Regions from separate parts of the Homo sapiens genome. Here region 2 is linked to region 1. Evidence: promoter capture Hi-C in 16 types of primary human blood cells and fetal thymus (Javierre and others, 2016). All regions are on one chromosome and are shown on one strand. The core of a region is centred on a gene start or on the middle of the fragment in contact, and the rest is flanking DNA. Distances in the headings are between cores, read along the strand shown. Region 1 holds the start of MCC (MCC regulator of Wnt signaling pathway). Region 2 overlaps MCC (MCC regulator of Wnt signaling pathway).

Region 1 (6,019 bases), core at 1,985-4,484:
CTCAAGTAGATGTTGCATGCTGTTGGTGACTCCACAGTTCTGGGGTTCTGGTAGTGGCCCTGTTCCCACAGCTCCACTAGGCATTGCTCTGTTGGAAACTCTCTGCAGCAGCTCTGACCCTACAATTCTGCTTAACATTGCCTTAGTTGGAGCTCTCTGAAGTGCTCTGCCCTTGTTACAAGCCTTTGCCTGGACCCAGGCTTTCAGCAAAAATCCTTTGACATCTAGGTGGAGACCCCACATCTCCACAGCTCTCGCTTTCTGCAAACCTGAAGAATTATAATGGCATCATATGGATGCCATTAAGGCCTATGGTTCTCATCTTCTTGAGTGACAGGTCAATTCACACCTAAAGCTTCTTGAGCCACAGCTGGCATGTCCAAAAAGCACTGTACCAGAATTTGGGAAGTAAAGACCTGAGAGAGACCTTGGCAGCAAGCCCATGAAAGGTGCCTCATGTCTGTCTCCTGAAACCATTCTGTCCTCCTGCCTCTGGGTCTGTGATGAGAGGAACAACTCAAAGTTCTCTGAAATGCCATCGAGGTCTTTCCTTCTCGTAATGATACTTTCTTCCTTTACTAATCTCTGGAACAAAAGGTTGCTGGGCTACACCCTTGGTTTCCTCTCCCAAACACACCTTTTCACTCTTCACATGGCCAGGCTGAGAGTTTTCCAAATCTTTCCACTTTGCTTCTCTTATGATTGTAAATTCCACCTTTAAAGTTTTTTTCCCCCTCTCACAGCTTGATGTAAGTGGTTAAAAGTAGCCATGCTGCAGCCTGAATGCTTTACTGCTTAGATATTTCTTTGGCCAGATACCCCAGTTTCTCTCTCTCAAGTTCAGCCTTCCAGAAAGCCCTCAGGCATAGAACAGTTCAGCTAAGTTCTTTGCCAATTTATAACAAGGATGGTCTTTACTCCATTTTCTTGTACCTTGTTCCTCAGTTCCATCTGAGACCTTGTCAGAATGGCCTTTACTGTCCATAGTTCCATCAGCATTCTGATTATGACCATTTAACCAATTTCTAAGGAGTTCCAAACTTTCCCTGTTCTTCCTGTCTTCTCAGCCCTCACTAGAACCTAGGCTTTTTCTAGACTGCTGCTTCATTCTTGTAGCCTCTGCTCATTATCCAGTTTCAAAGCTGCTTCTCCATTTTCAGGTATTCGTTTTCGTTAACACCCCACTCCCGGTACTAATTTCTGGTCTTGTCAATTTTCTGTTGCTTAGAACAGACTACCTGAAACTAGGGTGATTTATAAAGAAATGAATTTATTTCTTACAGTTCTGGAGAATGAAAAGTCCAAGGTCAATGGGCCACCCTGCTGGTGGGGACTCTGTGCAGAGTCCCAAAACAGTGCAGGGCATCACATGGCAAGGGGGCTGAGCCTGCTAACTCAGGTCTCTCCTTCTCTTCTTATAAAGTCACTAGTCCCACTCCCATGATAACCCATTAACTCATTAACTCATGAATCTATGATTTTAGTGCCCTGAAATACTGGGAACTTAGAGAATAATAAAGAAGTAAAGTAGGAATAGGTAGATGGGGTGGAGAGGAGGAGAAAGAGAGCAGAGATTCCTTCCTTCTGACCTAGCAGACATTCCCAAGACATATGGACTTGTTCCAGTTATATATTGCTGCATAACAAATCACCTCAAAACTTAATGGCTTAAAACAACAATTTTTAATTATTATCTTCACAGCTCTGGGGGTTGGTTAGCCAGTTTTGCTCAGGGTCTCCAATGCAGTTGCAGCATCTAGAGCTAGCATCATCTCTCACTCATGTCTGGCACCTAGTCTGGGAAGATTCTAAGATCCAGGGCTAGAACAGCTGTAGCTCTTTGGTCATCTCCTTTTTTCTTTACATGGTCTTTCTGCATGGTTTCTCCAGCTTCAGGGTAGCCAAACTTCTTTTCAGGCAGCTCAAGGCTTCAAAGGTAAGTGTCCCAAGGGAGAGAGCCAAGTGCAATCTGCATTGCCTTTTCTAACCTAGTCTCAGAAGTCAAGGCAGTCACAAGTCCAATCCAGGTTTAGGGGAAGCAACAGACTCCACCTCTTGATGAGGGGTGCACCAAAGAATCTGTGGACATATTTTAAAACCACCAGAGAACTTCACACGCCTCTCTGGCAGAAAATCCAGGACAGAATAATGAGTCATTCACGAAACCACAAATTGCTTCACTGTGGTTTCCCTTTGGCTATGGGGGAATAGTGCAGTGTTTAAAGGCTCCTGCTCTGGAGTTAGGCTGCCCGGGCTTGCCTCTGCCCTAACACTTACTAAACCTGGAACCTTGAGCAGGTCTTGGTACCTCAGTTTTCTTACCTGTAAATTGGGAACAATGAGAGCTAACAGTTGTTGAGCACTTACTAGGTGTCAGACATTGTCCTAACTGCATTATGTCTGCTCTCCTTTTATATGTAAGATAACTCTATGAGGTACTTATCTATTAATACTTCCTAAGTCGTAGGATTGATAATAAAAGAGGCATCTTCCAGGTCTGTAGTGTGGATCAAATGAGACCATCTATTATGTTCGCTCTTGGCATTATTAAAGCTGTTGGGGGAAATTCTAGTGATGCCTGGCCAGTAGAGTGAGCCGTTTCCAGAAATTGACCCAACGTACACAATGCCACACAGCGTGCAGACTCTTCCCAGTACAGAGTGGGAGCCAAGATGAGGGCTGCGAGGGCCAGGTTTCTTGACAGGTGTCAAAATTTCATAAAAAGGCCAGTCATTCCGGTTCTCATTGGTGGCTATGGGTACAGAACCCGGAACAATCCTGGAGAGTGGGATTACAAGCACCGTTTTGAGTTTGCAGAAGGAGAGTGTTTATATAGCTTCTCTGGAAAAGGAAGCCATGACTCCGGGCGGTCGGAGAAGGTCTGCCGGGAGTACACCTGCCCTCTGCCTGAAGCGTCCCCAAGTGTCCCGGGCCCGCGTCGTTGCCGGATGCACAATGCTGACACCCTTCCCGGGGGCTTCCAGTGTATTCTGCCTCCTCTTGTGTTCCCGTTGCCACCCTTAGCTCCCTGACTCTTCCAGCCACCTTCCCCTCCTCCCTCTTCCCTGAGGTGCCTCCTCGGGCGATTCCAGAGCGCCCATCTTCCCAGTCCGGGCAAAACCCGGAGAGGTGGAATCCCTCGCCCGGAGCGCCCCGGCGGCCACTGGGCATGCTCCGTTGTCAGGCAAGTTCGGGGCTGCAGGCAGCTTGCGCGCCGCGCGGATTCCAGCTGCGGTCGCGCGTACTCCTCCTCCCAAGTAGGGAGCGGGCGCATGATGGCGGCCGCGGCGGCAGCGGCTGCGGGGAGCTCCAGCAGCGGCGGCGGCGGCGGCGGCAGCGGCAGCAGCAGCAGCAGCAGCGACACGTCCAGCACCGGCGAGGAGGAGAGGATGCGGCGCCTCTTCCAGACGTGCGACGGCGACGGGGACGGATACATCAGCAGGTACGCGGGGAGGTACGAGGAAACCGACAGGAGCGAGATCAGTCCCTCCGCGCGCCCTTGACCCCTGCTCTGCCCCCTCGCCCCAACTTGCGGCAAGTTGCTCAGAAGCTCGCGGGAAAAGTTGGCCGCGACTCCGAGAGCGCGTAGCCGGCTCGGCCACGAAGGCCGAGGGGACTGCTCTGTTCGCCTTGCGGGGGTGCCAGTTGGTCCAACTTTTCCCAGCGCTGTCTTTGTCTAGGCGTTGGGAGACATCTCCTTAGGATGCGCACTCTTCCGGGGGCTTGGAGTGTTCTTCCCTGTGGGAAAAGGAGTTCTGGCCGCTTGTCCCAGGTAGGAGGGGCTGCCCCACAGCCTCGGGGTCCTGGGCATCAAGATGCCGCAGCACGGGGCAGCGATCTGCCCGGCGGCTTGGTGGACACCCCAGGGCCGCACCGGGAGGAGATGAGCTAAGCGACAGCCTCGGACAGGGAAATAACCTGTGAAGAAACTTTCTTGTGCCGCAGAACCCATGAATTCCAAACTTCAGAGCCCAAAGAATGGGTATCGTTTGCCACCCAGTATTGATTTAAACGCAGTAGCCTGAGAGGAACGAAGCGCTCAGGAGCAAACTAGGGCTAGACCCGACTCCTACCCGGCTCTGTGCGCTGACCAGGTGAGCTTCGGCGTGGCTCCGGGCGCCTCCGCGCCTCCACTCACAAACAAACTTTGGGGTGTTTGCTTCGGATCCCCCGCACTTCCTACAGAGGCGGTATTTAAGCTTCCTGCCTCCCGGCTTGGCCAAATAATTACTTCTGCCCAAATTTGTGTCACTTAGACTCTTGTGGTGAAGAAGGCAATCGCAACATTTTCTGGTATGCTTCTATTGAATGGTTGACACCGGCCATTGAAGACTTGGTATCCGTGGAAATTTGAATTGCCTTGGATGAAGGAGCAGCCTAAGTTGTGCATTACATGTTTCTTTAGTCTATGTCTTGGTGATGCTAAAGATCGTTTCTGAAAATCCGGGGCTGCTTCCTGATTGTCCCTGCCTACCTAAAAAAAAAAAAAAGAAAGCAAAGTGCGGAATTTTTCCCTTAAAATAAAAAAAATTATTTATTTGGGACTCAACGCAATTTTGATCATTCTTAGGTGAATTTTTATTACTTTGCTAAAGTTTTACTGAGAAACATTAGGAAGATATCAGAAAACTTGATGGAGTAATTCTGTTCGGAAATGAAAATAATATGTAATTCTGATTGACTCCATGCAAATTTCTATCTGGAAGTCTCGTTATTTTGGTTCTGGGAGTAAAAGAAATTTCATTATATAGTTTTCCTTTTTGTTGTTTTCCTACTTGAAAGGTTATTATCTCATTTGCAATAATAAAGGCAAACTCCAACTTTGGATACAATTTTTTTTTTTTTTAGACAGAATCTCGCTCTATCACCCAGGCTGGAGTACAGTGGCGTGGTCTTGGCTCACTGCAACCTCCGCCTCCTGGTTCAAGAGATTCTCCTGCCTCAGCTTCCCGAGTAGCTGGGATTACAGGTGCCCACTACCACTCCCGGCTAATTTTCGTATTTTTAGTAGAGAAGGGGCTTCACAATTTGGCCAGGCTGGTCTCGAATTCCTGACCCTAAGTGATCCGCCCGCCTCGGCCTTAGGAAGCGCTGAGATTACAGGCCTGAGCCACCGCTCCCCGCATGGATGCAAAAAAGTTTAATTTCACACGGGCAAGAGTGCATACAGAAAACTAGCAGCGTGCTATCCTTTTCTAATTTGGCCTATTAATATATTGCTTTATCTGAACTACACTTTCTATATAAATGCTCACATTATTTTCGGTGATTCTACCCGGGAGGATAATGAATTCTGTAAGCGTAATTTGAGTAAAGTGGGTGGTGATAAAGAAGCCGTTTTGGATTAGAGTAGAAACTGGCTGGGGCAAAAGTGGAAAAAGTTGTTAACATTCCTTGAGCTGCATTACTTTAATGTGTCTGCTTAAAAGTTTCAAGGTATGTGTAGTAATGAACCCTAAATCATAACTTTAACTGTGGGTGGAGCTGCCCTGAAAATTATGCTGTGGCAGAATTGCCATGTAGGAGAAGTTTAGGGATGGCAATCTAGGGCAACAAGGAACTTGTCTGGAAGTGTGTTTACCTGGTAAGCACAGTTTTACCTGGAATTTACGTTTATGTGGTAAGACTTGGGGAATGGGGCTAATGAAGGTAAGGGGCATTAAATGATTCCCTCTCTGAAGCCACTTTTCTGTGCTGCTTTCATTTAATGACCTGTACTTACCACTCTGTAGTGGGTGATGTGGTTTGGAGGGTTGTGCATTCCTGTTCTATCAGACATGAGAGTTGGACTTTTTAACATTAAAACCTTAAAAACTTTGGATTCATCTAAAGACGTTAAATTTATGTTCCTGGTAGACAGCTGTATCTGTTAGAATTTCAGATGACTATATGTCATCACAGTAACCTAACCATAGTCAAGTAAGGGTTGGCTTTGTCACCTAGTAGAAATCTGGAGGTAGGCTATCTAGGTTGGGGCAGCAGCTCTGCGGTGGTGTCAGTCCCCAGCTACCTTCTACCT
Region 2 (6,019 bases), core at 1,276-3,775, 110 kb after region 1:
CTATGCTCTTCAGGTGTAAAGAAAGAACTTTATAATCCTCAATTTCAAAACAAAGAAAGGGAGAGAAGGGTGTGGAAACAGGAAGAAAAAGAGAACAAAAGATTAAAAGTTGCCTCACCATTCCAAATAATAGAGTTTTTGTTTAGAATAACCCAAATGGAACACGTTTTTTTCATACACTTATCACTTTTCTAGAAACAATGAGAAAGTTGAAAATAGGTCTAGTATGTGAATATATTTAAGAAATACCTTTTTTTTTTCATTAACCAGTTTCTCTAGCTTAAATGTCACTCATAACACATTTTCTTCTGTTCAACCCCTTCTGCAGAAATGACTTGCTAATGGTCTGTCGCCAGCTGAATATGGAAGAGTCTGTGGCTGAGATCATGAACCAGTTGGGAGCAGATGAAAATGGGAAGATTTCCTTTCAGGATTTCACAAGATGCCGCATGCAGCTTGTTCGAGAAATTAGGAAGGAGGAAGTAGATCTTTCTGCAAAGTCAGACAACTCCTGTACAAAGAAGCTGAGGGATAGAATTGCTTCCTGGCCCACGAGCAGTGACAACAGTTTGGGTAGGTATAACCAGGTGGCAGTTTTATGGCACTCCACTGGCCTTGCCTGTGATCTCTCATTAAATGAGAGTAGCCTCCCCATCATGAGGCCACAGCCTCAGCTCATACTGAGGCTGCCCTCCTGGCCACACTTTCCCTGGGGGAGTGCTCACTGTTTCCCCCAGTTCTGTCTGATGGCTTCACACTTCCCAGCTTGCTGCTTTCTTTATTTTGCTTCTTCCATTTTCTAAGTATAATAATGCATTCAAGTAGCTATTATGGAAGAAGGGCAAATGCATAAGAAAGGTAGTAACTGCATCAGCAGGCCTCAGAAGCTCTTTGGGGAGGAAGTTTCAAGGTTACATGCAGAGGCTTTTAAAAGCAATTTTTTTGGGGGGCGGGGGACGGAGTCTTGCTCTGTTGCCCAGGCTGGCGTGCAGTGGCGGGATCTCGGCTCACTGCAACCTCTGCCTCCCGGGTTCCCGCCTTTCTCCTGCCTCAGTCTCCTGAGTAGCTGGGACTACAGGCACCTGCTACCACGCCCAGCTAATTTTTTGTATTTTTAGTAGAGACGGGGTTTCACCGTATTAGCCAGGATGGTCTTGATCTCCTGACCTCGTGATCCACCTGCCTTGGCCTCCCAAAGTGCTGGGATTACAGGTGTGAGCCGCTGCGCCTGGCCTAAAAGCAATTTTTTAAATTTAAGATTAAAATCGTTTTCTATAAAGATGGTTTTTCTGTTCATAAGTTTATATTTCTTACTGGTGCAAGATAAGCAGTTGGAAAGAAAGTTCTTAATACTGTTGATAATTATTGAAATTGGGTGATGGGAACATGGGGTTTCTTGTATATATTTTTGAATACTCAGTTATACATATTTTTTAGTATGTTTGAGATTTTACATAATAAAAAGTTAAAAAGGAAAGAAAGGAGACATCTTAAAGGGTAGCCTTGACAAAGAGACGGAAGAAAGTATCTGAATTTTCAGGGTTTGTTTTTCCTTGAAAATGTGTCTTTGATCTCATTGTTTCTCTGCTAGGTAGATCTATTGGCAAGAAGTAAAGGGTCATGTTGGTTGTCCCTGTCCAAATGAGCATAGATAATTGTGTAGTGCCACATACACACACATCTTTAAACAATGCTTCTTATTATTGAGTAATGGAAACAATAAAAATGTCCACATACACTCCATGCGTTACTACCTTCATATATTCTACTTTAGCAGCAAATCAGATGTCTGGTAATGCATGTGCTCTTAACATAATATGTAGAAATACTTAATATTGAAATACAAACTTTCTGAGTATTCAAGTAATATATGTTCATTATAAAAAAACACGGGGAAAAAAAGGCAAGCAGAAGAAAATAAAAATCATACTAATCCTACCACCTGGAAATAATAACTACTGCCTACGTTTGATATACTTACTTCTGGAATCTTTTCCTCTCCCTCTGTCTCTCTCGTCATGTGTGTGATTTGTGTTTTACTAATTTTTCCACATATCTTCTGCATATTTTGTATCTTGCAGTTTTTCTTTTGCATTTTCTTCATGCTTTTAATGGTATTTGAAAGCATGATTCGTAAGTTTGCATGACACAAAATAGACACTCAGTAAATATTTATTAAATGATGAAATGAAGGAATTTTTTCTGCTAAGCTGTATTTTCAGATTTTTCTGCCAAGAACATGGATTTCTTCTATAAACACATAAGTGTACACACATACATAGTTGAAGTGTTAAGTACATTGTGGAACACCCCAACCAATAATTGCATACTATATAGCATTAAAATAATGTGTAAATGTGTATCAAAATATGTACACAGAAGGAAATTTTTTGTGAAAAAAAATTGTTTATGTGTAGTAGATATTTATAAAAATCCTAAAAGGAACTGGTTTGAAAGAATTGCTGCACACATCTAATTGGTTTGACCAGCTTGGAAGACTGTCCTGACCAGAGAAAGGATTGAAAAACAATACCCTTTCATCCTTTTATATAACCTTATACCCTTGGGAAAAGAGGTGGTAACTGACAGGAGGTGATTCATAAAACATGTCCTGAACTGAGGAAGTGCCAGCGGCTGTGAAACCTCCTACCACTTTCTCCTGGTAGTTAAGAGTTCAGAGTCAGACTATTTGAGTGAGAATCCTGTTTCTGATGCTTACTGTCTACATGACACTAGACAAATTATTTAACCTCTCTGTGTCTCATTTTCCTCAAATGTAGAATGGGGGCAGTTGTTATTTGGGGGAATAAAGGAGCTAATATATATGTAAAGTCCATAAAGCAATGCCCCACACATAATCACTAAATACGTGTTAAACTAATATTCTTATTATTATTACCACCCGGTTTTAAGTCCTGGGGATTGGGAAAACAACTCCCTATTCAGCCTAACGTAAATCAAATACATCCAAAAATTGACACTAATTAGGCTGGGCACCATGGCTCACACCTGTAATCCCAGCACTTTAGGAGGCCGAGGCGGGAGGATCACTTGAGGTCACAAGTTTGAAACTAGCCTGGGCAACGTACAAAAAATTTAAAAGTTAGCCAGGTGCAGTGGTGCATGCCTGTTGTCCTAGCTACTCAGGAGGCTGATATGGAGGAGTTACTTGAGCCCAAGAGTTAGAGGTTGCAGTGAGCTATGATTACACCACTGCACTCCAGCCGGGGTGATAGAGTAAGACCCTGTATCCAAAAAAAAAAAAAAAAAGGACAATAATTAGATAAAGATATACATGTTCAATTAGTCCTTCTCTTTTCTATACTATTAACCTCTCCTTCTGACTCTATTTAGGTAAACTCCAGGATCTCCCTTCTGGGGGTGGAGGGAAACCCTCTCTTGACTTTGTGTCCCCATTAGTACTGCCTTATTTCTCTGACCCTTTCTTCAGTGAACTCTTACCATCTTCAGTCCTCACCACTCTGCTGGCCCTGCTCTTGCTGCCTCCATGTTGGCAATCCAAAGATTCCTTTTCTGCCCACATCTAAATCTTTGGATTTTGACCCAGCTGACCACTCCTTCATGCTAGCTATACTTTATTCTCTTGGACTTCTTGACACCATGTTCTCCTGTTTACCATTTTAGCTTCCCTTTCTCAGCCTATACTACTTCCAAATTTGGAGGTGCCTTGGGGTTACATTCTCTCCTTAGATGATTTCTTGTGGTCCCATGGGTTTATTTATTTATTTATTTGAGTCAGGATCTCACTCTGTCACCCAGGCTGGAGTGCAGTGGTGCAATCATGGCTCACTACAGCCTCAACCTCCTGGACTCAAGTGATCCTCCTGTCTCAGCTTCCCAAGTAGCTGGAACTACAGGCATGCACCACCAGGCCCAGCTAATATTTTGTATTTTTTTGTGGAGATGGGTTTCACTATGTTGTCCAGGATAGTCTCAACTCTTGGACTCAAGCCATCTTCCTGCCTCAGCCTCCCAGAGTGCTGAGATTACAGGCAAGCACCACCATGCCGAGCTTGGTCGTATGGTTTTAAATACTAGTTTTGTACCAGTAACTCCCAAATATAATTATATATATCCCTGCCCTTTCCTGTGATCTCCAGAATCAGGTTAAATTGACATGTATTCCTAGATATCTTACAGACTTCCAACCTTAATGCAGTGAAAAAGAACTTTTGATTCTGTCCCCTACTTTTTCTCCCAGGCTTACTAGTCTCCCAGATAACCTTTACCTAGGAAATATCTGCATTTAGTAAATATCTGCATCTTGGAAATATTTCTGTTCATCTGTTTGCTCAAGCTGGCAAGTCCCACTGTCTCGCGTGCAAAAGTATAGCCAGAATCTGCCCACTTCCTTTGCTCTCCTGCCATCACCGTGTCCAAATCACCATCATATCTTGCCTTGCCTACTAAAATAACCTTTAACTGGCCTCCCTGGCCCCTTCCTTGGCTCCTGACATTTTATTTTCTACCCTGTAGTCAGAATTGTCTTTTAAAGTTATAAAATCATGCTTAGTTCAATCCCATGTCTAAAACATTCTGTGGCTTCTGTATCATCTTAAAATAAAGTCCAAATTCCTTACCACAATGTGGTGCACACCACCCACTCTGAGTTGATCTCATCTTGCTCCCCTGACTTACCATGTTTGCCACAGTCACACTGGCCTTCCTGCTTTTCCTCTAATTTAGCAAACTCAGCCTGTCTCTGAGCCTTTACTAGGCACTTAACCGGGCTTAAATATTTCCTCTTCAGAGAGGCCTTTCCAAGCTCAAGCAGCCTCTCCTCCTTTCCTCATTCACATGCCCTTAACTGCTTCATACCACTCACCCTTATCTGACATGAGTTATGTACCTCCTTGAATATTTACTTATCTATCTTTCCCCATACAAATAAATTTCCACCGGATTACTAATGACGTTGATTGTCATGTTTACTGCTATACTCCAGCACTTAGAATAGTGCCTGGCACAGGGAAGATGCTTGGTGCATGTTTGTTGAATGAATGAATGAATGAATGAATGAGCAATGCACTGTCATGCTACTTTAGGGACACAGGGAAGTGCAGTGCACAGTTCCAGACACTAAATAACTTATAATGTGATTGTGGATGCATAAGCACATGACAAATTAAGTGACAATAAGCTTTAAAGTAGAGTTAACAAAAGTTTGGAAGCCATCGAATGGTACAGAAGTTATGGTCTGCTCTGTAAGAGGAGCTAAGAAATACTGTGAACAGGAGTTTCAGGAAATGGTTACCTGTGACTGTAGGATGGAGAGAAGTAGAAAGAATGTTGTGCTGTTGTGAGAAAAGCCTAAGAAAAACTTCGGTTTAATAGTTAAGTGCCAGAAGAAGTTTATTGTCAGCCTCGACATTTCACAGCACATCTACAGCAGGGAGCTGGGTTGGCAGAAAAAGACTAGTCAAAACATTACATGCTCAGCTCGGAAGAGGAATTTCCATAGATTCATTCCTCCTAAGTGTTTTCTGCAGAACACTGATTTAAAGAGATGGTTATAAATATTATGTGAGGAAGGAATTTCTTTGTTAAGTACATGTGAAAACTTTGGGTTAAACTAGATTATAGTTTTCTTTATGGCAAGACATCTCGGAGCCTTTAATATGCTATTGTTTCTTGAAAGTCTCCAGAAGAAGAATAAAATATAAGCATTTTCCACACTTAATTGACTATAAACTTTTACTCACAAAGCTTCTCTTAGGCCATGCATTCTCTGCTCAAAAGTTCTTTGGGTGAAAATTAAGGCACCTGAACAAACACGTCATAACAGATTTTTATATCGGTTTAAGCCATCCCAGAAACAATATTTTTAAATTTTTATGTGTTTTAGACATCAGCTATACAATTTAATACTTGTAGCAATAATACAAATGTTTTAAAATTACTAGTATTTATTAGCATGAGACAATTTGCTAGGCACTTTACTTGTATTATAATGCTAGAAAGATAGATCCCAATTTCACCACTGAGTTGCCATGGAACT

The links. Contacts are between HindIII fragments. The CHiCAGO score rates a contact against its expected background, and 5 or more counts as called.
Region 2: a fragment that was not itself captured here is called in contact with the fragment with the promoter of MCC in region 1 in 1 of 17 cell types (endothelial precursors); the score reaches 6.0 in endothelial precursors.

Annotation. Positions count from the first base shown.
Region 1 is chr5:113,485,668-113,491,686 of GRCh38, reverse strand. MCC (MCC regulator of Wnt signaling pathway) reads left to right here and starts at 3,234. Exons shown (of 19, transcript NM_001085377.2): 1 at 3,234-3,442. The coding sequence starts at 3,273. RefSeq lists an enhancer at 3,041-3,335. The HindIII fragment of the contact is 3,844 bases long and covers 358-4,201 here.
Region 2 is chr5:113,379,522-113,385,540 of GRCh38, reverse strand. MCC (MCC regulator of Wnt signaling pathway) reads left to right here. Exons shown (of 19, transcript NM_001085377.2): 2 at 329-573. Among named protein-coding and RNA genes, the nearest start is that of TSSK1B, 52 kb to the left of the region's middle. The HindIII fragment of the contact is 5,277 bases long and covers 1-5,163 here.